Regions from separate parts of the Homo sapiens genome. Here region 1 is linked to region 2. Evidence: promoter capture Hi-C in 16 types of primary human blood cells and fetal thymus (Javierre and others, 2016). All regions are on one chromosome and are shown on one strand. Each heading gives the region's core, a stretch centred on a gene start or on the middle of the fragment in contact. The rest is flanking DNA. Distances are from core to core; before and after follow the strand shown. Region 1 overlaps ZNF337 (zinc finger protein 337). Region 2 holds the start of NXT1 (nuclear transport factor 2 like export factor 1).

Region 1 (7,159 bases), core at 2,738-5,237, 2.3 Mb before region 2:
TTCCCACTAAAGATAGCTTTGCGGGGCTATCCATTTCAATCTGTTGCCCCTGTGGCAGCCACTTCAAAACATGTCAAAGAAGTATATTTTGGGGTAAAATAATTTCCTTCAGCATCTGCTGTCATGTGATGCTGTACCAGAGTCAGGTTGGAAAGTGAGCCTCATTATATAAGAGTAATAAAACTCATCTGATGAGATTTTATGGTTTCTCGGGCAGGATTCCCCAAGCCTCATACATAGGCATTTGGGCAAGGGAAAAAAGGTGAATTTAGTCCTCACCAGGTTGGTAGGGCTTCCTCGGTTATTGGAGTGGGAGTAACAGCAACCATTGGGCCCAGCAGTTTTTTTAAATGTCTCTGGGGCTGTGGACTGACCATCCAAATAACTGATTTTAATCATTTCATTATGGAAAAATTGTCAGCAGAACCCCCAAGTAGAGAGACCCATCAGTCAAGATATACCTCATGACCTTGCAAGCTAATCTAGCTTGACCCAGATCCCCTCCTAATCTGTGCAGATTCATTGAGGAATGTCATAGCCATGCCTACTGGTTAAGACATAGTCCTTTACAGTGAGAGTTGAAACCCAAGCTCTATCACTTTCTTGGCTGTGTTGCTTTGAGAAAGGCATTTAAATGTTTTGTGCCTGTTTCCTCATCTGAAATTGGTGGGTAATAGTCACTTCATAGGACAGTTGTGAAGATTGAATGCAGAAAAATTTGTGCCACGCCTGGAACCGTCCCTGGCATATATTAAATTCTAAAAAAGTGTTAAATATTATAATGAATATCAACACTTCCTTATTCTGGAAGCACCGACAGGATATGCTGTGTTTAGTGTTAGCATCATGTCAGGACAGGGTCTGTTGCGATGCCCACACTCAGGATCTGTTCCCAGGAACCTGCGTAAAGTTTTCTTCTCTGGAAGACTTTGGGTCCTTTTTTTTTAACAAGAAGAGGCTCTACCCTGGGACTGGGAATTTCCAAGGCCACCTTTGAGGATCGCAGAGCTCATTTTAGAGCCATTTTAGTCCCCAGCTCCTCTTCCTCCACTCCCACGTTACCCGTGAGAGGACTGTCTGCAGGGTAAGGGAGGACAGCCCAACCCCAGGTGGGGACTTCTTATGTATTGCCTTCCTGCAGTGCCTTCTCTGCCCTAAACCATGGTGGGTTTCCTTTGCTAATGTCTGACATCTTGTGCCCTACACTGTCCCATCTGAGGCTCAGAACCTCTCAGCCGGTTCTCATGGGGAACGTTCCCCAGATCTGATGCCCTCATTCAGGACACTTCCATCATTGTCCCTACATTTCTTCTCTCAGTGCTTTATTCAGGCTGCTGCATTCGTGGTGCAGACCAGGTCTTGTAAAAAATTATTCAGTCAGCATGTGCTGAGCCATTGTCCTGTCCCAGGGACAGGGCTTTATAGTCATTGCCCTATTCATCTCTTCAACCAATGTGGAAGTTAGGAATTGGAATCCCCATTTCACAGACTAAGAAGTGGCGTGTTAATCAGTTGAAATAATTTTTACGGCTTGGCGTGGTGGCCCATACCTGTAATCCCAGCACTTTGGGAGGCCAAGGCGGGCAGATTACCTGAGGCCAGGAGTTCGAGACCAGCCTGGCCAACATGGTGAAACCTCATCTCTACTAAAAATACAGAAATTAGCCAGGCATGGTGGCTCACGCCTGTAATCCCAACTACTCTGGAGCCTGAAGCAAGATAATCGCTTGAATCCAGGAGATGGAGGTTGCAGTGAGCAGAGAACATGCCACTGCACTACAGCCTGGGGGACAGTGAGACTCTGTCTCAAAAAATAATAATTTTTACTTTATGTAACATATCTGGGATCAAGTGGACTGGGTTGTGGAGCAAGCTGGGATTTTGGGGGTTTCTGTTAAGAATTAGCTTCATTGAGGTATAATTGAGACAATAAAATTATCTCCCATTTTAAGTTCTAGTTGATGAGTTTTGAGAAATGTATATAGTGAAGTCTTGATCATCAAATCAACATATGAACATTTTTCATCTCCCAAAAATGTAGGAGCTGTTTTTTTATCTTAGGAGAATTTTAATGAAATATACGTGGAGGAGCTAAATGTTTCAAGTTTGCCTCATATTCATATCTAATTTATTGGTAACTAATTTAAACCACTTTCTTACGGCTCTCAGTTTCTGTTCCTACAGGATATTAACTCCCACAGATGGCAACAGATGGCAGGAGTGAGACCAAACAGTTTGCAGTGTTCTCCATTCACACCCTGGAAATGAAAGTTTTCTCTATTTTTCCTCTCCAAATTATCTTGGAAGGGATATTCAATTTTTTTCAAATTTACTATGAAAAATATTGAAGTAGGAACTAAAGTAGAGAGAATATATAACAGATCTCTCTGTTCCCTTGTTGCACCTTAACACTTTGCTCTTCTTATTTCATCCAACCCCCTCCCCACCCCATGCTTTCTGTTTTCAGGCTAGAGCATCTTGAAGCCAATCCAAGACACCATTTTATCTGTAAATTTACTGCAGCTACTTCTCTGAGGACTATTTTTGTTGTTACTGTCTTGCCTTTTAACGTAACTAGAGTACCAGAATCATACTCAACAAAATTAGCAATGTATTAATTTCACTCATTACCCAGTTTATGCAGAAATTTTCCAGGTCTCAAAAATTTCTCCTTACAATTCAGATTTCACACTCAGGTTCATTAAGATGGGAAGCATGAGAGAAGAAATATCTAGAAACCAGCTCAGTAGTGCCCCTTGTCTGTTTTACTTCTCTCGTTGTGATCTAGGTAAAGGAAGTTTCCCTACCTTGGCAAACTTCCCATTTGCTTGCTTAGGTGCTGAGGCTTGTTCATTCTTTCCTTGCCATAGCTTTTTCCTTCCCTTCCTTCCTTCTGCCTGCCAGGCTCATCTCCTAATTCTACTTCTACCCATAAGGACAAATAATGATCACACCACTTACCTAATTGCCTGGCCCTAGTTCTGGTCCCAACTATAATCAGAAATGTGGATTCTGGAATGGCAGTGAGGAGCGACGTGGACTGTATCTCCAGTAAAACACCATAACTGGTAATTTAGAAAACCAAAAACAACCATTTAAACTACACGGAATTTGTCTTAAGACCACTCAGGAATTTAGAGAAACATTTATTCAGAAAAATCAACTGAGCCTTTCTGAGAACAGTGAGAGTCTGTAACATTTGACACACAAACTGCTACCCTCCCCACCCCCATTTTGGTCCACTCTGAGAGAAACTCCACTGTGGGCTGTGAAAATCACAAGATGGAACCCTGTCCCTCTCCAGTTCTCAGTCTATGGTGACAGCTTTTCCCTGAGAGAGGCACGATGCCACTATTCTTAACTTCTCTCCCCCTGCCAGTCCTGTGTTCCTGAAGCTGGTTTCATGTAAGTATAGTTGAGAAGTGTGTTTGGGTGTGGACCTCCTTGAATTTATTCTTGGAGTTTGTTGAGTGTGCTGGCCTTGTAGATTCATGTCTGTCTTCAAATTTTGAAGTTTTGGCCATTATTTCTTCAGTAATCTATCAGCATCTTCTAGACACCCATATATATGTCCAGTTAATGGCACCTTATAACTCTTTTGGCTCTGTTTATTTCATTCTTTTCTCTTCTGCTTCTCTGTCTCTGAAATTTCAAATTCTTCTCTTTATGTTTACTGATTATTTCTTCTGCCTGCTCATCTGCCGTTAAATCCCTCTACTGAATTTTTCAATTACTGTGTTTTCGGGTCCAGAATTTTTGTTTGCTTCCTTTTTGTAATCTCTGTTGGTATTTTGTTCATATATATTTTCCTGATTTCCTTTTCTCTACCCGTGTTTCATGAGTTTTTGAGAATATTTTAGACAGTCTAAAATCTGTCTAGTTTGCCTGAAGCTTATGTTTCTCCGGGGAAGGTTTCCGTCACTTTATTTTCTTCCACTTATTGGGCCATGTTTTCTGAGTTTTTGTTGTTGTTGTTAGAAATTAGGCATTGTGGAAAAAACAACCTCCTTTTCCGGTTTTTGCAGACTGACTCTTTTCCAGGGAGGATTTTTGCTATTATCTTGGTATTCGTTCTAAGCTTTGGGATCAATCTGAGGAGAAGGTTTAAGATTTTCTCAGGCCTTTTTGGAGCATGGATCTTACCTTTGCTTGTGGCTTTTTCCATTTTCTCATAGGCAACTGCTTTTAAATATTTATTTGTCCCAAGAGTCTCTCCTCTGGGCCTTTGATGGTCTGTTGTATGTCTCCACCCATAATATCTTGCCCCAGGCATCTGCTCTTCAATCTGTCTGCATCTTTGCCAAGCATGATCCAGTGCTTTTCTTCCCTAAGGTGTGAGATCCTCAAAACAGAGCAGTCCCTCAGGCAGCCTCCAACAGCTTAGAACCTTGTAAGAAAGGTCTACTGTGCTTTCTCAGGTTTGAGGGAAGGAAGTGGAAACTGAGATGCTGCTTTAGAAGCTCTGTTGTATTCTGCACCTGTAATTTTTTGCCCCAGGGATCTATAGGCAAGTTCACCATGAGATTTTTCCATTAGACAACACTTGGACAGGATAGAACATTGGGAATAAGGTGTATTGGGCTGCAAATATGACTGTCTCCTGTTTTGTTTTTGTTGTTGTTGTTGTTTTGTTTTCTTGAGACTATGTCTTGCTCTGTTGCCCAAGCTGGAGTGGAGTGGCATATTCAAGGCTCATTGCTGCCTCAACCTCTTGGGCTCAAGCCAGGAGTAGCTAGGACTACAGGCACGTGCCACCACATCCAGCTAATGTTTATATTTTTTGTAGAGATGAGCCTTTGCCATGTTGCCCAAACTGGTCCCGAACTCCTGGGATCAAGCGATCCACATGCATCAGCCTCCCAAAGTGCTGGGATTACAGGAATAAGCCACTGTGCCCAGCCAGCTGCCTTCTGTTTTTAATGTGGCTTTTTCTTGATTGGGCAGTTTCTTGAATGCTGGGGACTTTTGAGTATTTTCAAATGAAGTTAGCTCCTATAAGATTATTTTAGCCAATTTTTTGGTAAGCATAGAATTAGCAATATGATTAATGCTTTTTCTGTAAACTAGTGTTATGAAAAATCTCAAATGGGTAGCAAAATTGGGAGATGGTAATAGGAATCCCCATGTTGCCTTCATCCAGATTTGATCATTTTAAAACCATGGGTAGTTCTGTTAGATTTATCCCTTCCCCCTGTTTATGTGCCAAAGTATTTCAAACAAATCCAGATGTCTTGTTATTTTACCCATATATACTTGATCTCTGAGAGGATTTTTAATCAGTGTTGAGGTGTAACTTGCATACCGTAAGAAGCACTGCTTTTAACTGTATAATGAGTTTTGACTCTTTAAAGTATACACAGGTCACTTATCACCTCAATCAAGATACAGAACATTTCAACAAGAGTTCTCATGTGCCCTTACATGTAATCATTCCAGAGGAAAATAGTCAAGAATTCTCACCAAAATATGGACAAGTAGTATCCAGCAATACATGAAAAGGATGATATATTCTAGCCAAATAGAGTTTGTTCCCAAAAAACCGAGGATAGAGTGAACATAGAGTAAGCAACCTGTGGAGATATTTAACTTTTTTTTTTTCTTGATGCGGAGTCTTGCTCTGTTGCCCAGGCTGGAGTGCAGTGGCACGGTCTCCGCTCACTGCAAGCTCTGCCTCCCACGTTCACACCATTCTCCTGCCTCAGACTCCTGAGTAGCTGGGACTACAGGCGCTCGCCACCACACCCGACTAATTTTTTTTTTTTTTTTTTTTGTGACGGAGTCTCACTCTTGCTCAGGCTGGAGCGCAGTGGCGCGATCTCGGCTCACTGCAAGCTCTGCCTCCCGGGTTCACGCCATTCTCCTGCCTCAGCCTCCCGAGTAGCTGGGACTACAGGCGCCGCCACCACTCCCGGCTATTTTTTGTATTTTTTTGTATTTTCAGTAGAGACGGGTTTCACGGTGTTAGCCAGGACGGTCTCAATCTCCTGACCACGAGGAGGAGGCCCGCCTCAGCCTCCCAAAGTGCTAGGATTACAGGCGTGAGCCACCGCGCCCGGCAGAGATACTTACCCTTACTTAACCTATCTGTAGTTCTCCGCTTAGGAACAAAAGGAAAGGTAGCTTCTTGGATGAATCAGCTTTCAGCTTAATATTTTTCTTTTGGCAGAGTGGTTTGGGTTCCAACGTTTTTATTTTCCTTTCACTGCTTTCAGGGAGCAAAAGAGAAAAACCTACATTACTATCTTAATGCAGAAAAATACTTGATAACATTTCACACCTATTCAGGGTAAAAATTCTCAGTAAATGAGGAATAGAAAGAATTTCCCTTAATGAAACAAAGGTTATGTGTGACAGCCTGGCTGCAATCATCATATTTAATGGTGAAGTGTGTTCACACTAAGATCAGGAACAAGCATTAATGTTGATTCTTATCACTCTTATTTAGCATTATCCTAGAATAACTAGCTAACCTGTTAAGGTATTAAAAAGGAATAAAAGGCATAAACGTTGAAACAGAAAAAAAAATTTTTTATTCACAGAAGATGTGAGTATGTACATGGAAGAATAGTTAAACAACTAGATACTAGTAACACACAGTTTAGGAACTTCAGAAAATAAGGTCAGTATTTTTAAAAAGCACTTGTATTTCTGTAACCTAGCAGCAAACAGTTAAAAAATGAAATACATATTTATACTACCATCAAAAACAACATATTTAAACTTCTAAGAGTAAATGTAGGGGAATATCTTTGTGACTTTGGAATAGGTAAAGATAGCACAGATGGGACATGAAAGGTAAACTATTTATGTAAGTATATAGAAAGAAATAACAAAAATGTTTTAAATCACCTTTCAACTGCCGTCAGAGGAAGAAATTTCACTGTTTTTCTTCTCCAACTACATGTAAACCAAAAAGTATCAGAGTCAAGTACCAATTTAGATGTTTATTTTGCCACAGTTGAGGACATGCCACAGAAAGAGGCCAGTGGCTTTCCCCAAAGATGAGTTTGAGAGCCTCATTGTTTAAAAAGGAAAAGTAGGCTGGAGGGGAAAGAGGAAAGGTGTGGTAATCCACCTGTGACAAGAGAAAAGGAGCAGGTAGGAAAATAGTTATGCATTCATCTCACACTCAGTAAATCAGCACTTTACATAAGATACG
Region 2 (6,776 bases), core at 1,911-4,410:
CGTGAATGCCAAAGTTCATTCTGCCCTGACAATGGAACATTCCTCCTTTTCTACTACTGGCAAAATAGTTACAGACTGCAGAACAATGACTGTAGGCTCAAATAGTACCCAATGCCTAAAAATGCCTAATTTTACTAAGACTCAGTTTGCTCACTGTTAAGATGGGATTACCACTGTGGCAAACTGAGATAGTATACCTTAAGTGTTTAGTTTAAAAACATTTAGTTATAGTCAGCACTCCATATCTGAGGGTTTTGCATCCACAGATTCAGCCAACCTCAGGGCGAAACCTGCAAATACGTTGGGCTGACTGTGCTATGCCATTTTGTTTTTGTGACAGTCTCACTTTATCACCCAGGCTGGAGTGCAGTGGCGCGACCTCGGCTCACTGCAACACCTGCCTCCCAGCTTCAAGCGATTTTCTTGCCTCAGCCTCCCAAGTAGCTGGGAATACAGATGCCCGCCACCACGCCTGGCTAACTTTTGTATTTTTAATAGAGACAGGGTTTCGCCATGTTGGCCAGTCTGGTCTCAAACTCCTGACCTCAGGTGATCTGCCTGCCTCGGCCCCCCAAAGTGCTGGGATTACAGGCATGAGCCACCATGCCCGGCCTTAACGCCATTTTATATCAAGGACTTGGAGCATCAGCAGATTTGGTCTGTTGTGGGGCTAGGGGGGCTGCTGGAATCAATTCCCAGAGGATAAGGAGGCCTGATTGGACCACGAATTTTTAAAATCACATTTTATAAAATAGAGTACATTTGAGTATGGAAGGCCACTCTTTCCTGAATGCTTGCAACAGACATGACAGCCCCTTGGTAAAGACAGTGGACCATGTTGAAGGGAAGAGTGGTCACTGGCCCAATAAAGGCCAACCAAACCAATGAAATGCTCGTCAGCTGCTGAGTCTAGGAAAGTCTATCATGAGCTCACTCAGGAGGAACTGGGAAGGCAGAGAAGGCAGGTTTCTTAAGAGGGTAGAAACACAAATGACATGAGGACAGAATCAAAATGGCAGCCATAATCCCCATGATAAGCTAGAAGCAGCAAACCTCTTGGGTGAGTGGGGATTAGAAGGGAGGACACCCAGCTTACACAGGTACTAACATCCACCAGATAAGTCCTGTGGAGTCACAGTGCCTCCACAGAAAGGCATGTTAGATTTCAAAGCTCTTGGGTGTGTGGACACAGAATATGAACTATAGCTGAAATGTCACATTGTCCCCCAAATAAAAAAGTCCAAAAGCATTTAAAAAATTGACATTTACTTTTTTCAGGGTACAGGTACAACTGTTATGTTCTTTTCTCCATAATTAAAATATTTCACTTAAAAAAAAGAGGACATTACTAAAATAGAGGACATTACTAAAATAGTTTATACTTACAAACTTAGTGAACAGTTTTTTTTCATTTCAAAAAAAAGACTTTTTTTTTTATAATGATTAGCTTATGAAATAAATAAAACATTCCACATAGGGCTGGAAAGAGCCAGGTACTTATAACGGCTGCAAAGATGGTGCATTGCCTCTGGTAAAGGGCTGGCTGGGAGGGAAGCTGTCCTAAAAATGAGCAGTTAAGAGCCAATTTCAGACGTGGGTCTTTCCACGCCCTCCACAGACCTCATAGTTAAGCCTCAACTGTACTCTGGACTGAGTACAGTGGTCCCTCGGTATCTGTGAGGAACTGGATTCAGGACCCCCGAGGATACCAACACCTGCAGATGCTCAAGTCCCTGATAAAATGGTGTACTGTTTGATATAACCTATGCGCAGCATCCTCCTATATACCTTCATCATCTGTAGGTAACTTATAATACCTAATACAATGTAGATGGGATGTAAATAGTTGTTATACTGTATAGTTTAGGAAATAATGACAAGAAAAAAAAAGCCTCTACATGTTCAGTACAAACGCATTTTTCTTTTTCTGAAGAATATTTTTGATTTGAGGTTGGTTGAATCCACCCCACGCGGAACCCACGACTAAGAAGCGCTGTGTTTGCTAAGGGCTTCACACAAATTACCTCATTTAAATGTTACCACAAATGGATGAAAAAGGTATTACTATAACAATTTTACAAATGAGAAAAGGGAAACCTAGGGCTGGATCAAAGTAACGACGGTTAAGTACACTCCTGATCTATCGTTTACAAGACTAGACTGAGGGCTGAAATTTTGTCAATACAACGCTGTCCTTGTACTCGCGTAAGCAAGTCTCCATGAGCACAACTCCAGGACTGCTAGAGTGGGAATTTTCTCCCAGGGACCCCATTTCTCTTTGGCTGGAATTCCCGATCTCCACCTCACTCCTCCTCCCTCCATGGCACCAGTCCCCCCATCATCTCAGAAATGCCCCTCTTCTCCGCCCCTGGCTGTCTTTCCAAACACAATCTAACAACTGGCCACGCCCCCACACACCATAGAAGGACCATCTCCACTTACGGTTTTCAGCTACCTATGAGGTCGTCAGTCCCGCTGTCTGTGTCAAATCAGAAAAAGAACCTGACCGTGAGGACTAGAGTAAGAGGCTGTGAAGACTGCCGCCTCCTCGCACGACCCACACCGTCGAGTGTCCGGAGATGGACGGGAAAAGCTACCACAGTGGCATGGCCTTATTTCCTGTGAGTCGCCTTTAATTCAAACCTAGACAGACGCACGCCCTGCCCGGCCCTCCTCAGACCCGAGAGCTGCGCTGTGAGGGGACGCGCCTCCCCTCGTTGATGAGAATTCGCTGCCACGCTTTTTGCACAGGCGAGAGCCTCACCGCGGCGGCAACTCTACCACGTGGACAAAGGCACAGCCGTGTCTCATTCTCGACAATGGAGGAGGGCGTGGGGTATGCACTAGGGGCTGTCTCGGGGGTCAGACCGCCGGGGGACGGCAACGTACCTGCGCGGCGACGTCCAGGGTCAGCGCGGGCCGCGGCCCCCACGGTCGGGACGCCCCCCGCGTGGGACGCAGTTCCACTGAGGGGCCGGCCGCGGAGGTCACAAGGTGGGCCCACCGAAGCCTCTGGTAGGGGCACGGGAAGAGCCGCCTTTCTCTCCTCCTCCTCCTTCTTGGAGGCTTACTCTGGGTCACCGGGGCCCCAGAGCCGGGGGACTTTCCGGCGCAGTTCCGCGGCTTCCCGCGCGCGGCCAGCCGGTCTCCACGCAGACGCGAGCGCCCCGGCGCCGCCCTCTCCCGCATTCCCGTGACGGGCAGCGAAGTCAGCCAGTGGGACTGCGGGCCGGAAGGCTAACTCCGCCCATGTGTGGCTTATAAGAGGCGGTAGCTTCCGGGAGTGTCACTTTCCCAGAAATCCCGGCAAATCCGCCCTAGAGTTTTCGTTGGTCCAACCGGGCCACAGACTCCGGCCCGTCTGGTTAGGTGGGATGCCTGATTGGGCCAAACCTCTTAGGTCCCGCACCTAGAGCGGGGAGTAGCGTCTGCTTTTTTTTCCGCTGAGCGGAGGCCGCTAGGCTGGAGAGGGAGGGGAAGGTGTGTGGGGTCGGGTGAGATGCTTTCCCCTCGTCCCGCATGCGCCTGTATTGGAGTGATTTCAGTTAAAAGTCTCGTGAAACGTCACCAGTGATGTAGTCACGGCCAGCAGCAGCTGCCTGACCCCGCCGAGGCCTTCCGTCTGGCAACATGTGGGGCGCCGCAATGCTTGAGGCCACGGCGAGGGCAACGCCGGCCGCGCCCCGTGGAAACCGCGTGGCGGAGTGCTTGAGCCGATCGCGCTCTTTAGGAGTTAGGCCACTTAGAGGCGACATCTTGGTGGACACGGAGGAAGCCAGTTTTAGTCAGATGGGAAAAGTAGCTAAAAGTGGGAGGAGACTGGGGCGAGGGTGGGACGTGGGGGAGGCGGGGGCGTGACGGCGGCTCTCCACTGCCCTGAGGCTTGAGGGGCCCCGGGAAACCCGGGCCCGGCTGGGGTTGGGACTCTGTTCTTCCGCGTTCATAGCTACGATTCAGCTGTTCTGGAATGAGAACTGGATTTTTACTGAACTTTACGAACAGGCTCAACAGGATGTAACCATTCAGTGTGGAGGCATGAGAAACTATAGCTTGTAAATTAAAAGAAAAACCTCATTTCTTTAGACAACATTTTCAGCTCCATCTGCTGGTCTGAGGCTGAATAATTAATTGAAAAGCCAGGAGAGAAATGGGGCTAGATGAAGTGAGGTAGTTTAACCTGTGCTTTCTTGGCGTCCCGTCGGCTCCCTTTGCTTGCATTCCTAAGAGAATCTTGGTCTCAGATTTCAGGACAAGTGGAAAACAGTTGGGCTATTTAGTATAGGCCACCCCTTCCCCCCCGCACCCTCTCCCCCCACACACTTCAGTTAAGTAGGTGGAAAGTTTGGATTATTAAAAAGACACGTTGGAGGCTGAGCAGAGAGTGTGAAAGAGCATTTTCGGGGCTTTGTGAACTAACATGGCCTTTTGAACCCCAAGGCAGTGATACTTGGATTGATCTAAATCAGCGTGGATGGAATGGAAGTGGGAATGCGTTGATTTACTGCACGCTCAGTAGTTTGGATGCTGTGCTGCTTTTGTTTCCTGTATAATAAGCCCCTTTAATTTGTTTCACATAACTTATTGGGGGAGGTACCATTATTTCTGATTTTATAGACAAGGAGGCTGACAAAGAACCATCCTGGTGTCACAGGGTCGATTCATACCTAGAAAAGTATGAAGATTCATACCTAGAAAAATTAGAAGAACATTAATGCAGCTCCAAGGCCTTTTAAAAATGCGAGACTTTAGCTTTGAAAGGCAGCTGTTCTGCCTTTTAGGTTTGTGGGGTCTGCCTTTTAGGTTAGGGTCCTTTTAGGTTTGTGTCTCCAGCATATAAAATTGTGCCTGACCCAAAGCAAGGGCTCAATAAATACTGTTTGAATGAACAGACAAACCTGGGTTCAAATCATGCTCCTCAACTGCACAGTTGTGATGATCTGTCCTCAACACTCACTCCCTGCTCTCTTTGGAAGCAACCCTGGCTTTTATTCCCCCTATTTGTAGCAGGACAAGCCGCAGACAAAACCCCTCAGAAACCAAGTTAAAGAAGGAAGGGCTTTATTCGGCCAGGGAACTTCAGCAAGACTCACGTCTCCAACAACCGAACTCCCCAAGTGAGCAATTCCTGTCCCTTTTAAGGGCTCACAACTCTAAGGGGGTCCACGTGAGAGGGTCATGATCAATTGAGCAAGCAGTGGGTATGTGACTGGGGCTGCATGCACAGGTAATTAGAACGGAACAGGACAGGACAGGGATCTTCACAGTGCCTTTTTTATGCAAACAACCAATTAGGTCAGGAGTCAATCTTTACCAGGCCCAGGGTGTGGCGCTGGGCTGTCTGCTTGTGGATTTCATTTCTGCCTTTTAGTTTTTACTACTTTTTTCTTTGGAGGCAGAAATTGGGCATAAGACAATATGAGGGGTGGTCTCCTCCCTTACTATGATCCTGGAGTTTGGGGAGGTCAGAGACATCCCTGGTTCCAAAGGACACACGACTGGCACTGTATGCGTTGAGCACAGCTGAGGGTGGTCGGAGGCCCAATTAGGGCCACTGAGCCTGGAGGTGTTTGCTGAAGGATTCTGGGGAAGGAGATTTTTCTCCCTTCCCTTCTGGACTCACAGTGTGTGGATAGCACTGTTGCAGCCATCTTGCTGCCCTGAGTGGTAGACCCTTGATGAGGCAGACAGGAAAGCTGGGAAGAAATCAGGCTCTTGATGACTATGTTGGGAGTCAAATCATCCCTCAAGTTTGGACTTTTCAGTTTCAAGAGCCAGGAAATCCTTTTATCTTTTGTACTATTTAAAATTGGGCATAAGCATAAAGTTATTTGCAACCTGACTAGTGTGGCTTAAGCATTAGCAGGGTGGCTGTGGCAAGTGAGTTAGCCTCTTTGAGGCTCAGCTGCCTCCTCTGTAGAATAGGGGCAATGGTCATATCCATCTCCTCGGGCTGACGTGAAGAGCGAACGAAACAATGCATGCTAAGTGCTTCATATGGGGCCGAGCATGAAGTAGCATCCAGAAAGCGTTGGGAAAGCAGAATCATGCTTTGACATTTTGCATCTATAGCAACTTCCTTATTTGCCAACAATCCCTCCAATGACTGGCTTTTAAACTTGGAAGAAGTGTATTGACAAATTGGTGGGATTTGTCACCAAATTGCATGGGCCCTTCTGAAGATGAGCCCAGTGGTCCCATGTGCAGCGTGGAGTCCGTCCAGGGAGGAAGGGCACATCTGGTCACACAGGCAGAGTCCTTGGCAGCTCTGATGACAGGCTTGATTTAAGGATCTTTAAGTCTGTAAATAGAGGATTGATCTTTTCCCTCATTGTCAATGTTGTTCTCTGGCGCAGGATCTTAACAGCATTTGTTTGCCATGAGAGGCTGCATGACTTGGAGCCAGTCAATCTACGGTGACAGCAAAGCAGTTGTGACTCTAATGTACTGCCACCAAAAACACTTTCTTTTCCGTCTCTCAGCCTTAGCAGGATCATCTGAGCCACTGCCAGTTCAGAGTGAGCTGGGGCTGCTTTTCCAGGAGGGCAGTTGGGGACCTGACTTTTGAGGAGATTCTGAGGTTTACTGAAGGAGCAAACCCTATGGGGTTAGACAGAGTTTTGTGAAATCTGAGCTCTGCCTTCTCTGTACTTCAGTTACTGCCTCTGTAAAATGGGGGTGTGGACACTGTAGACATTAAATGGCAGTGTATAAAGGAGGCACCATCTGGAGCATTTGTCCAGCCTGCAATGATGCCGTTTGTCTGAGAAGGTTGTAGG

What was found. The method cuts DNA at HindIII sites, captures the fragments that hold promoters and counts their contacts. A CHiCAGO score of 5 or more calls a contact.
Region 1: a contact is called between a fragment that was not itself captured here and the fragment with the promoter of NXT1 in region 2, in 2 of 17 cell types (naive B cells and total B cells). The highest score is 13.7, in naive B cells.

What each region holds. Positions count from the first base shown.
Region 1 is chr20:25,687,746-25,694,904 of GRCh38, reverse strand. The region is part of intron 1 of ZNF337 (zinc finger protein 337); the gene reads left to right. Among named protein-coding and RNA genes, the nearest start is that of ZNF337, 5.5 kb to the left of the region's middle. The HindIII fragment of the contact is 187 bases long and covers 3,894-4,080 here.
Region 2 is chr20:23,347,175-23,353,950 of GRCh38, reverse strand. It overlaps NXT1 (nuclear transport factor 2 like export factor 1), which reads right to left and starts at 3,160. Exons shown (of 2, transcript NM_013248.3): 1 at 2,890-3,160. It overlaps NXT1-AS1 (NXT1 antisense RNA 1), which reads left to right and starts at 2,484. Exons shown (of 3, transcript XR_937384.2): 1 at 2,484-2,621. RefSeq lists enhancers at 2,309-2,358, 2,415-3,286, 3,225-3,519, 3,439-3,578, 3,287-4,159 and silencers at 2,849-3,118, 3,739-3,868. The HindIII fragment of the contact is 12,471 bases long and covers 1-6,776 here.